3 separate regions of the Homo sapiens genome follow, and regions 2 and 3 are each linked to region 1. The links are contacts of gene promoters, found by promoter capture Hi-C in human tissues and cell types (Jung and others, 2019). All regions are on one chromosome and are shown on one strand. The core of a region is centred on a gene start or on the middle of the fragment in contact, and the rest is flanking DNA. Distances in the headings are between cores, read along the strand shown. Region 1 holds the start of TLE6 (TLE family member 6, subcortical maternal complex member). Region 2 holds the start of GIPC3 (GIPC PDZ domain containing family member 3). Region 3 holds the start of TIMM13 (translocase of inner mitochondrial membrane 13).

Region 1 (3,903 bases), core at 966-3,465:
GCTGGTCTGGAACTCCTGACCTCAAGTGATCTCCTGCTTCGGCCTCTCAAAGTGCTGGAATTACAGGCGTGAGCCACCACGCCTGGCCTGATGTGGTGATTTTTTTTTTTTTTTTCTGAGACAGAGTCTTGCTGTGTCACCCTGGCTGAAGTGCAGTGGCACAATCTCGACTCACTGCAACCTCCGCCTCCCAGGTTCAAGTGATTCTTCTGCCTAAGCCTCCAGAGTAGCTGGGACTACAGGTGCCTATCACCATGCCTGGCTAATTTTTGTATTTTAGTAGAGCTGGGGTTTTCTTTTTTTTTTTTTTTTTTTGAGACAGAGTCTTGTTCTGTCGCCCAGTCTGGAGTGCAGTGGCGCAATCTTGGCTCACTGCAAGCTCCGCCTCCCGGGTTCACGCCATTCTCCCGCCTCAGCCTCCTCAGTAGCTGGGATTACAGGCACCCACCGCCACGCCCGGCTAATTTTTTTGTATTTTTTATTAGAGATGGGGTTTCACCGTGTTAGCCAGGATGGTCTCGATCTCCTGACCTCGTGATCCACCCGCCTCGGCCTCCCAAAGTTCTGGGATTACAGGTGTGACCCGGCCAAGCTGGGGTTTCACCATGTTGGCCAGGCTGGTCTCGAACCCCTGACCTCAGATGATCCACCCACCTCTGCCTCCCAAAGTGCTGGGATTACAGGCGTGCACCACAGCACCTGGCCCAACGTGGTGATTTCTAAGTAGGGAGCTGAGGGAGTAAGGAGCCAGCCGGTGGCTGTCTGAGAGAGACTGTCCCTGGCAGAGTGAACTGCTAATGCCAGTACCAGGTCCTGGGCCAAACAGAAAGAAACGGGCTCTCACTCCAGAACTGCAGCTTGACCACTATATATATAATATATATACTTTATATATATTATAGCTATATATTTTTTTGAGATGGAGTCTTGCTCTGTTGCTCAGACTGGAGTGCAGTGGCACGATCATAGCTCACTCCAGACTCAACCTCCTGGGCTTACGCCATCCTCCTGCCTCAGCCTCCCCAGTAGCTGAGACTACAGGTGCATGACCACCACACTTGGCTAATTTTTAAATTTTTTGTAGAGACGCGGTGTCACTGTGTTGCCCAGGCTGGTCTCCAACTCCTGGCCTCAAGCAATCCTCCCACCTCAGCCTTCCAAAATGCTGGGATCACAGGTGTGAGCCATGGTGACTTGGCTTCATATTTTGAATAGGCCAAAACAAAACTCCGAAATCCCCTTACTCCTATCCCCACGACCCCACACAGCAGGTTTCTCTCGCTCTGCAGCAACCCACTTACCTCTCGGAAATCATCCCAGGCCTGTTCGGAGTGCACGCAGCCCCGTTAGCCTCCCTGGCTGCTCCTGTAACCAGCCCAGCTCTGCCTGAGAGGTTCCGCTATTCCCTCCGTCTGGAATACCCACCACTCTCTCCCACCCCGCGCTTGCATCCGGCAATACTGTATCAGCCTCAGGGCCTCTGCTGTCCCGCTTTCTGCTCTCAGAGCCTTTGTCACTGGGCTGGAAGAGCAGTTGGGAAAATTCGGTGATAAATGCATAGCCCGGGGCTGGGACCATCAAGGGGACCCAGTAAGTTGGCTCCAGAAAGAGGACTTGAAGCTTCGTTTGCATTGCACGTTATTTAATATTGAGGAAAATGTAATTAGCCCGTATCTAAGAATTGGGGTGACAGCGCTAAAGATTGAACCCACCCACCTCCCACTCCTCACCTCCAGCCATAAGCCACTTCCGGACAAGGCTAAAAATGCGTAAAACAATGCAACTACTCGCCACCTATCCCTGCCCAAGTTCCAGCCTCTGAGCCTCAAGCCCCACGCCCTCCTAAATATCCCCGCCCCCGCTGGGACCCCAAATTGCCTATAGCTCTGCAAGTCCGCCCTTCCCGGCAGCGGGACCGAAAGGGTAAAGCAGAGGCTCCCGGCTCGCTGAGTGACAGCATGGCCGGCGGCCGGGGAGAGCCGACCAATCAGGGAGGGCGTACGCGACCCACGTGCGTAAACGGCCTCGCTATTGGCCGGCGCCGCCAGAGGCCTGCCCCCCCCGGAGCCCGAACCCACGTGCAGCTACTGCGCCTTCATTGATCTGCTTCGCGGTCCAGGTGGCGGCTGGGTGGGGCCTGGGCGGGACGGGGCGGGGACAAGGCGGGACGAGGCGGGGCCCGATGGGTCAAATGGCCCCCGGTGGGGGAAGGAGGAGTTTCCTCTTGGCCTGAACTTGGCTGACCTCCGCAGCTTCCGCCCGGTGAGGGACGTGAGTTGCCAGGCGTGTTCTAGGGGGCTGGGGGGACTCCAGGATTCCCGGCCGGGGAAGGGGCTGCAGGGGCGTGGAGGGGCAGGACTGAGGCAAGGAAGAAGCTGGGTGCTGCAGCAGGGATGGAGGTGGAGAGAGGTCGTTTCTTCTGTCTGATGAATTCCGCCTAATGCACCTGGCTAACTCCTAGTCATCCTTCAAAACCCCTTTCTAGTGATCTCCCTGCGCTTTAGGAAATTGTCTCAAAACTAAGGTTGAGCTTTGGCGACCTTCCCTGGGCTCCCCCGTCCCTGACTGCCCCCAGCAGGGAGTGTATGTGCACTATCCACCCCAGCCTCCTAGGGTGAGGCCTGGGAGGCAAGGCTCAGTTCTTTCTGGGTCCCCGCCCCCATGAATCTGGGCAGCTGGAGGCATTGATAAGTGAGGACAGGACCTAGGGAACGCATGGGAGAACCGCAGGATTGGGTCCCTGGAGACTTACCAAACTGGGAGGTGCGGGTGGGGTAACGGGTGCCTTGCTTCCCTGGCACTGCCTTATTTTCTGTCCCTCAAGACCTGCCGTCTCCTTGTTGTTTTAGACTCTGGCTAAAGTCTTGGAGGCTACTGCCTTGAAGATGACCTCTAGGGACCAGCCCAGACCCAAGGGCCCCCCGAAAAGCACTTCGGTGAGGAGGGCATGTGGTGGGATCAGCCCTCAAGGGAAACCCGGGCCCAATGTGGTTCTGCCCCTTTTCCACCTGTGACCTGGGCTGGCCCCGCCCAGGCCTCGCAGCTGAAGACAATACTGGTCGCTGCTACACTCAAGACAGGTGCCAAGGAGCCGTGTTTTTTAAAAAAAATTAAGTGTAGGCTGGACACTGTGGCTCACAACTGTAATCTCAACATTTTTGGAGGCCGAGGCAGGAGGACCACTTGAGCCCAGGAGTTTGAAACCAGCCTGGACAACGTAGTGAGACCCTGTCTCTGTAAAAAATAAAACTAGAAGAATCAGCTGGGCCTAGTGACGTGGGCCTGTAGTTGCAGCTACTTGGGAGGCTGAGGCAGAGGGTTGGCTTGAGCCCAAGGAGTTTGAGGCTGCAGTGAACTATGATGGTGCCACTGCACTCCATCCTTGGTGACAGTGAGATCCCATCTAAAAAAAAATGTAGCATCTAATCACATATGTGATAAAAACACAGGAACACATCATGTATTTGGTTGATGTTTTACAAGCAATCCCCGCTCCCTGCACTTTGCGTCCCAGAGATGACCATTTGTAAATTTAGGCTCTCAGGGCTGAGCAGACGTTTTTTTTTGTAAAGGAGTCAGATGAGGGATATTTTGTTTTGAGACTTTATGATTTTATTATGTTTGAGACGGAGTCTCACACTCACCTCGGCTGGAATGCAATGGCGCAATCTCAGCTCACTGCAACCTCTGCCTCCCGGGTTCAAGTGATTCTCCTGCCTCGCCTCCCGAGTAGCTGGGACTACAAGCACCTGCCACCATGACCACCAAATTTTTCTTGTATTTTTAGTAGAGACTGGGTTTCACCATGTTGGCCAGGCTGGTCTCGAGCTCCTGACCTCGTGATCTGCCTGCCTCAGCCTCCCAAAGTGCTGGGGTTATAGGTGTGAGCCACCACACTTGGCC
Region 2 (3,903 bases), core at 884-3,383, 610 kb after region 1:
AGGCATGAGCCACCGTGCCCGGCCTTACATAAAATTTCTTACCTCGTCCAAACCCTCCTGCCACTTTCTTTTCTCTCCCCATGTTCAGTTTGTGAGGCTCCTCCTGGGCGGAGGCTGTGACTGGCTCTGCTGTAGGGCCCGCCACTGCAGGCAGGATGGCTGTTTATTGAGCCGACATTCCTGGGTAGGAATCTGATGGATACGTAGGTGTTTCTGACATTGCACTCCAGCGGATTTTTACCAACGCCTCCTGGTGCCTGGGGTCTCCTCCTTCATCTGTGACCTGGACATCCGTTCATTCCTCACCAAAGATCACTGGGCACCTGCTGTATGCCAGGCACTGTGCCCTGGACACTGGGCATGGGGACAGAGCAGGGGAACAGCCCCCACCCTCCTGGAGCTGACATTCCTCCAGTCCTGGGGACAAACAGGACAAAAGATGAAATGAAATATCAGCAGGGGGCTGGGGCTCAAGCCTGTAATCCCAACATTTTGGGAGGCTGAGGCGGGAGGATTCCTTGAGGTCAGGAGTTCGAGACCATCCTGGCCAACATGGTGAAACCCCCGTCTCTACTAAAAATACAAAAAAAATTAGCTGGGCATGGTGGCAGGTGCCTGTAATCCCAACTAATCAGGAGGCTGAGGCAGAAGAATCGCTTGAACCCGGGAGGCAGAGGTTGCAGTGAGCCGAGATCGTGCCACTGCACTCCAGCCTTGGCAAGAGAGAGAGACTCCGTCTCAAAAAATAAAATAAAATAAAATATCTGATATGTCAGATGGTAGCTTTAAATGCTGAAGAGAAGCTGGGCACAGTGGCTCACATCTGTAATCCTAGCACTTTGGGAGGCCAAGGCTGAAGGATGGCCTGAACCTCCTGGTCTTGAGTTTGAGACCAGCCTGGGCAACACAGTGAGATCCCAACTGTACAAAAAATTAATCATGTTTCTAAATTAAATTTTAAAAAACTGAATGCGGCCGGGTGCGGTGGTTCACGCCTGTAATCCCAGCACTTTGGGAGGCCAAGGCAGGTGGATCACCTGAGGTCAGGGGTTCGAGACAAGCCTGACCAACATGGTGAAACCCTGTCTCTACTAAAAAATACAAAAATTAGCCAGGCATGGTGGTGTGCGCCTATAATCCCAGCTACTAGGGGGGCTGAGGCAGGAGAATCGCTTGAACCCAGGAGGTGGAGGTTGCAGTGAGCCGAGATCACGCCATTGCACTCCAGCCTGGGCGACAGAGCTAGACTCCGTCTCCAAAATCAAACAAACAAACCAAAGGCTGGGCGTGGTGGCTCATGCCTGTAATCCCAGCTTTTTTGGAGGCTAAGGTGGGTGGATTCCTGAGGTCAGGAGTTCAAGACCATCCTGGCCAACATGGTGAAACCTCATCTCTATTAAAAATACAAAAAAATTAGCCGGGCATGGTGGTATATGCCTGTAATCCCAGCTACTGGGGAGGCCGAGGCATGAGAATTGCTTGAACCTGGTGGGCAGAGGTTGCAGTGAGCTGAGATCGTGCCACTGAACTCCAAACTGGGTGACAGAGCGAGACTCCAGCTCAAAATAAATAAATAAATAAAAATAATAAAATAAAATAAAACAATGACCTCGCCTAGCAGAGGGTGAGTGCTCCAGCACCCTCAGCTGTCCCTGTCCTTTTTTTTTTTTTTTTTTTTTTTTTTGCGACGGAGTCTCGCTTTGTTGCCCAGGCTGGAGTGTAATGGCGCCATCTCAGCTCACTGCCACCTCCGCCTCCCGGGTTCAAGAGATCTCAGCCTCCCGAGTAGCTGGGATTACAGGCGCCCGCCACCACGTCCGGCTGATTTTTGTATTTTTGGTAGAGACGGGGTTTCACCATGTTGGCCAGGCTAGTCTTGAACTCCTGACCTCAGGTCATCTGCCCGCTTCGGCCTCCCAAAGTGCTGGAATTACAGACGTGAGCCACCGCTCCAGGCCTGTCCCTGTCCTTATTTGTGGTCCCTGTTCTTCCAGGGTCCTGAGCTCAGGCCCCCCCGGACTGCGGGTATCCCCGGGGAGGGCACAGCTGGCCCTGGCAGGGCCCGGACACCTGGGGCCCGACCCACCCCTGCGCACCCCGCGGTGTCGCCTTCCCGGGAGGCTCGGGTTCCCAGATCCCCTTACCCGGGCGTCTCGGCTGTCGCGCCCTGGGCCGGGGGAGGGGAGGCTGCAGGAAGCGGCGGATCCGGCGGCGGCGGCGAGGGCCCGGGTGGGTGGCCGAACTTCTCCCGCCATGGAGGGAGCAGCGGCCCGGGAGGCCCGGGGGACCGAGACCCCGCGCGCGTCTGCGCCCCCGCCCGCGCCCTCGGAGCCCCCGGCCGCGCCCCGCGCCCGCCCGCGCCTCGTCTTCCGCACGCAGCTGGCGCACGGGAGCCCCACGGGCAAGATCGAGGGCTTCACCAACGTCCGCGAGCTGTACGCCAAGATCGCCGAAGCCTTCGGGATCGCGCCCACCGAGGTAAGGAGCCCGGACACCGGCGCCCAAGACCACCCGCCTGATGGGGTGAGGGGTAGGGAGCTTGGACCCTGGACGGGAGACCCCAGATCCCCGGATCCCAGACGTCGGGGTGGCCGCCTAATCGCCGGATCTCAGAGACCCAGCCCTCAGATCCCGGGGTGCCACACTCCCAGGGGCCCCCTTTGCACGCTCTGCGCAAAAGATGGGCAGGTCTTAGGACTAGCGGACCCCTAGATATTCCAGAAAATCCTCTGCGCAGACCTAGCTTGGAGCGGACCCCAGCCCTCGGGGAAGCGCCTCTGTGCTTCCTGGGCGTAGCTGGGGTCTGGGGTTCCAGATGGCCCCCTTAGGGATGGGAAGTTTGAGGCCGCCGTGGGGTTGGGGGGTTCCTGGGCGTTTTTCCAATCCGGGTTCGTTTGGTTTGCAGCCCCCAGGGGGCGCCAGCAGATTAAACCTGGAGGTCTGGGGGCTGGAGGTCCCGGGGTATGGAGAGGGGTCTCCACCTGCTGGAAGTCTCCTTCTCCCTCCTCTCTCTGTTCTGGGGGTCCCACGCCCTGCCCTTTCCCATGGGCTGGGATCCTGGTCGCTGGGGGCAGGGGCCTGCGCAGACAGGGTGGCTGCGTGGGGGGATGCATGCCCTGGCTAACTCTAGGCTCCTTCTCCCCCGGGAAGATTTTATTCTGCACCCTCAACAGCCACAAAGTGGACATGCAGAAGCTCCTGGGGGGTCAGATAGGCCTGGAGGACTTCATCTTTGCCCACGTGCGAGGCGAGACCAAGGAGGTGGAGGTCACTAAGACAGAGGATGCTCTGGGGCTGACCATCACGGACAACGGGGCTGGCTACGCCTTCATCAAGGTGCCCGGGAGGGGGTGGGCGGGTGGCTTCCTGGGGTCCAGCAACTGCCCCCCCCACTCTGGGTCGACGTGGGTTCTGCGGATTGGAGGCGGGTGGCTGGGGTTGCCCTGCCAGCGACGCTGGATCCCTGCAGAGAATCAAGGAAGGCAGTATCATCAACCGGATCGAGGCAGTGTGCGTGGGTGACAGCATCGAAGCCATCAACGACCACTCCATTGTGGGCTGCCGCCACTACGAGGTGGCCAAGATGCTCCGGGAGCTGCCCAAGTCCCAGCCCTTCACCCTGCGCCTGGTGCAGCCCAAGAGGGCCTTCGGTGAGGCGGGTGGGCTGGCGGGAGCTCTTCCCGAAGTGCGTTCTACGGATGCCTGGGGTGGAGGAGGGTCGGGGATGGGACGGGCTGGAAGGTTCTAGGTGCACCCGCTGCGTGCCAAGGAGCTCCTGGCAGGGTATCAGAAACTCGTAGGTAGTTTCTATTAATAGATTGTTATGGAGTCAGCCTGTGGGGGAGGGGTGGGGGAGAGACTGGGTAAAGTGGAGTTGGAGGAGGACGCGTCCAGAACCACTTT
Region 3 (3,903 bases), core at 1-2,500, 550 kb before region 1:
GAAGCAGGGTCAAAGCAAGCCCTGACAAGGGGAAGGCTGTCCCCCTTAGCCTTTGGGGCAGGGGTGGCAGCAGCAACACATTCCTCGTGACTCAGCAGCCCGGTGGCACTAAGGGGAAAGATGGACTTCTCCCAACCCAGGGGAGGCTGAGACCCTCCGAGCTGGGGTTCCAGGGACACGCGTCACCTCTTCCCAGAGACCCCTCAGGAGGGAAATAAAGAGGTTTCTCTCCGTCCTCCACCAATTTATTTGCCCATCCGCAGGAGGTGACAGCTCCTGTGGTGTCTGACCACCCCCAACTCCGAAGTCCAGACAAGCTGTCCGCCCAGAATATGAGGCTGACTTGGGCACACTAGGGGAATACCCCAAAGGCCTGAAGGAGGTGCCACTGGGCTGCCAGCACTTCAGGAAGGCACAGGGCCCCACACCCCCGAGATCCAAGCTGCACTGGCTGGCAGGGGGCAGGGCGGGGGGTGGCGAGGACACAGTCCCGTGTGTCCCAGCACCGGTGCCACCCTCCTAAGCCCCGGGCAGGCAGTACGTACATGCGGACCCCGCCTCTCAAAGCACGTTTATGGAAATGAACAGGGTGGGGTGGCCCGCGCTCGCCGGTCACATGTTGGCTCGTTCCCGCTGCAGCCGCGAGTTGTAGGCGCGAGACACGGTGTTCCAGGCGTCCATGTAGCGGTCCATGCACATGGCGATGCACTTCTGCGGGAGCGGAGGGGCGCACGGCTCAGCTCGGGACTTCGCGGCCCCGGGGACCGCCCTGACCCCGGCTCCAGGACGCCCGGGCTGCAGACTACGCACGTGCAGTGACCACTCCGTCGCACCTCCCCGTTAGTCTGCGCACGCGCAGACACCTCCCCCCTCGAATCTAGGCCCTCGCGACCCTTGCCCCGAACCTCCGCGGGTCTCACCTGCTCGGAGTTGTCCAGGGAGCCCCCAGGTTTCCCTATACACTTCCGGAAACACTTGTCCGTCATCCTCTGTGGAGACACGCGAGGCTTTAGCCGCGACGTCGGCCCCCAGGGGTGGCCCTGTCGCCCCCAGCGCCCGTCCCCGGCCAGCCCCGCACCTGCAGCAGCTCCTGCGCGTTGGCCACGGCGATCTGCACTTTCACCTGCTCCATTATGAGCCCTGGGTCCAGCTTCCCGCTGCCGGAGCCCCCGAAATCGGAGCCGAAGCCGCCCTCCATGGCTCCGCAAAGTCAACCGGACCGAGGCCGCGTGCGCCGACTCGTAACTAACTGCGCCGGAAGCGGGCCGCCCGGGGCACCACGGGAAACGGAGTCCGCGCGGACGGGGACGGAGGACTACAACTCCCACACGACCGCGCGCGCCCGGGCCATTCAAGGTCGCGCGGGGGGCCCTCCGCTCATGCGGAGGCCTGGACCTGCCGTTACCTACACGAGCTACCCGTGGTTGCGACTCCGCGGGAAGAGGGAGGCCCTGACTTGGCCGGGGAGTAGGGGGGCTACTACGTGCGGCCGAGGCCGATCACTTTGTACTCACGCTCTGCCTCCAGCTCGTCCCGAAGGGCCTGCCGCGCATGCGCACGAGGCACCCGGCGCGTCTATACAGCGTGTTGCCGCCGGGGCGGAGCCCGGTCGCATCACGTGACGAAGAGTCAGCTTGTGCAACAGCGTCGGAGGCTCACTAGAAAAAAAAGGGCAGGGTCCCATGCATCGCCTGGGTCCTGTTTACACTAGCTACACTAGCCAGTGACCTTTTTCCTTGGGGGTGGAGGGATCTTTCTTAGACATCCGCTTCATTAGGGCAGAGGCCCCGGCTCGAGCTTCCCCTCAGGAATAAACTCAGAGGCAGAACCTAAAATCAAAATGTTTATTGGAGTGTTGTACAAAAAAGTTTCCAGTCATAAAATGTATATTACAAATCATTGGAAAAAAAAAAGAACACATTAGGCATGCATCTTCTTAAAAACCGAATCTCTGAAATGAAAGTCCATGCCAGCCCCAGCTGCAGCCCAGCTCCGTTTTTGCAGGTTGTGCTGTGACGCTCGCTGGACGCAGGGCTTGGAAGAGGCTGCAGGCGGCGACGCCCCAGGACTGAGGAGTCCCTCAGATCTTTAACAAAGAACTGCCGCGTGCAGGCTTCAGACCAACCCCAGCCAAAGCCGCTGGCATGAGGACAGGTGCATGATCGGATTCTGGGTCAGCCCGCAGGCCTCCCGGCTCCTGGGCTCAGCGGGGCAGGCTTCAGCGTTAACCTGGCGCTGTGCACCCCAGAACCCGCGTTGGTCCAGCAGGCGTGGGCCTCCCCCCAGGGCTGGGTGGCGTCTGATGCTTCGCAGGGAGGGCGCTAGGCTTCGAGTCACACGGCACGGGCTTACACAGAGGGATGGTTTCGCATCGTTCTAAGCGGCACACAGCTAAGCGTATTTGGGGACAAATGCAAATTGTTTCCCAGGCCATAAATAACTTTTAAAAATTTGATTTTCTTAGTGTTTCCAAAGACTCAATTCTCAATGAACCTCCAATTACCCACAGGCTGCCCAGTCCACGCTTCTCCCCACCCCCTTCAGCTAAGGGCACCCGCAGTCCTAGGACCACCCCCAGCTCCACCCAAGGCAAATGTAGGGTGGGGGGTTCTGTGGGCCTGGGGCGTGCTGTTTTCAGGACAGGACTGGGCAGCGTCTGGACATGAGGACCTGCGGGTTTTGGGGGGGACTTTGTCCCTGAGCCCAGCCTGCAAGGCTGTCGGCAAATCACAGACCAACTCCAGGATACAGCTTTGCTCCTCCAGAGCCAAAATACATAGGATGTGGCTGAGACCACTGCAGACTCCCCATAGGACAAGATCACCAAGACCCACCCCCAGAACCCTCGCTAGCACGAAGCCCAGCCAGTCGGGTCCGGGTGATTCCTGCTATGAAGGTGGGAAAGAGGACACAGTCTGTCGCCAGCATTCCCACTTCCAGCGGCTGGCAGAGGGTATCCCCGGGGCAGGCAAAGCTCCCTACCAGCCGCCTGACTGGGAGCACAGCGGCGTAGCCTCCAGGAGGAAATGCTTTGGTAAGATGCGCCCCCCTCTATCTACATGGGACCGGGACTTCTGAGAGCAAGGACAGCGAGCAGGGGCTACGTGGAGCAGCGGGTGTTTCTGCTTTGTCGGCCGCTGGCTCCTTCCCGGCCTGGGGCTGGGGCCCCCCATTCCTTCCTGCCACAGGCAGGTCCCCAGGGAGGCGGGATGCAGTCACAGGGGAGCGGTGCCGCCCCCGCCCTGCAGTGAACGCCATGGCCCGGAGACGGCGCGTGCCCATGGCTCAGTTTTGGTGTCTTTAAGACTTGAGCTGCACTTTCTGAAGGAGGCTCTGCCGTCGGAGGGTGCCCCAGCCCCACGCCACCCCGGGGAGGAGGGTCAGCCTGTCCTCAAGGCCCTGGCGTGAGCTCCTGACCTGTGTACTGACCAATGTAAAAAAATAAATATCCATTAAAAAAATAACTTCTGTGTATCTATGAGGGAGGGTGTAAACGGTGAGCTATTGCCGAAGGGGGGTGCCAGGCATTGGGAAGCTGGACTGAGGGGCTTGGGTGCGTCGTGATAGGAGTCAGGTGGCCTTGGCCTGTCTGAGAAACATGGTTTCAGCGAGAAAATCACAGATAAAAGCACAGTATGGATAGACGCATGTGTATATATAGGCACAGGGCAGACGGAGCTGGAACACGGGAGGGGCTCCACAGCGCTCTCCTCCAGAGGGTCAACATGGTGGCGTTCCCTGCAGACAGCTGTTCTGAAACTCACAGCTTCTGCCTCCAAGGCAACCAGATGTGTCCCCTCCACATCTCCCCTCCCTGCTTATTGTTGTGACAGGTCTTACGACGGGACTGTCCTCATTCTTCCTTCCCCAGGTCTTCCCCTCCCCTGCCCTGTTGGCCTTGCA

The links. The method cuts DNA at HindIII sites, captures the fragments that hold promoters and counts their contacts. A contact is called where the count stands out against the background at its distance.
Region 2: a contact is called between the fragment with the promoter of GIPC3 here and the fragment with the promoter of TLE6 in region 1, in 3 of the 25 tissues and cell types used here (bladder, dorsolateral prefrontal cortex and pancreas).
Region 3: a contact is called between the fragment with the promoter of TIMM13 here and the fragment with the promoter of TLE6 in region 1, in 1 of the 25 tissues and cell types used here (aorta).

The regions. Positions count from the first base shown.
Region 1 is chr19:2,975,349-2,979,251 of GRCh38, forward strand. It overlaps TLE6 (TLE family member 6, subcortical maternal complex member), which reads left to right and starts at 2,216. Exons shown (of 17, transcript NM_001143986.2): 1 at 2,216-2,262; 2 at 2,850-2,936. The coding sequence starts at 2,886. RefSeq lists a silencer at 1,938-2,247. The HindIII fragment of the contact is 31,192 bases long and covers 285-3,903 here.
Region 2 is chr19:3,583,345-3,587,247 of GRCh38, forward strand. It overlaps GIPC3 (GIPC PDZ domain containing family member 3), which reads left to right and starts at 2,134. Exons shown (of 6, transcript NM_133261.3): 1 at 2,134-2,478; 2 at 3,151-3,336; 3 at 3,470-3,650. The coding sequence starts at 2,254. The HindIII fragment of the contact is 10,668 bases long and covers 1-3,903 here.
Region 3 is chr19:2,426,336-2,430,238 of GRCh38, forward strand. It overlaps TIMM13 (translocase of inner mitochondrial membrane 13), which reads right to left and starts at 1,251. Exons shown (of 3, transcript NM_012458.4): 1 at 1,079-1,251; 2 at 921-989; 3 at 1-711. The coding sequence starts at 1,198. The coding sequence ends at 613. It overlaps LMNB2 (lamin B2), which reads right to left. Exons shown (of 12, transcript NM_032737.4): 12 at 1,831-3,903. RefSeq lists enhancers at 1-741, 742-1,487, 1,572-1,721 and a silencer at 932-1,021. The HindIII fragment of the contact is 21,330 bases long and covers 1-3,903 here.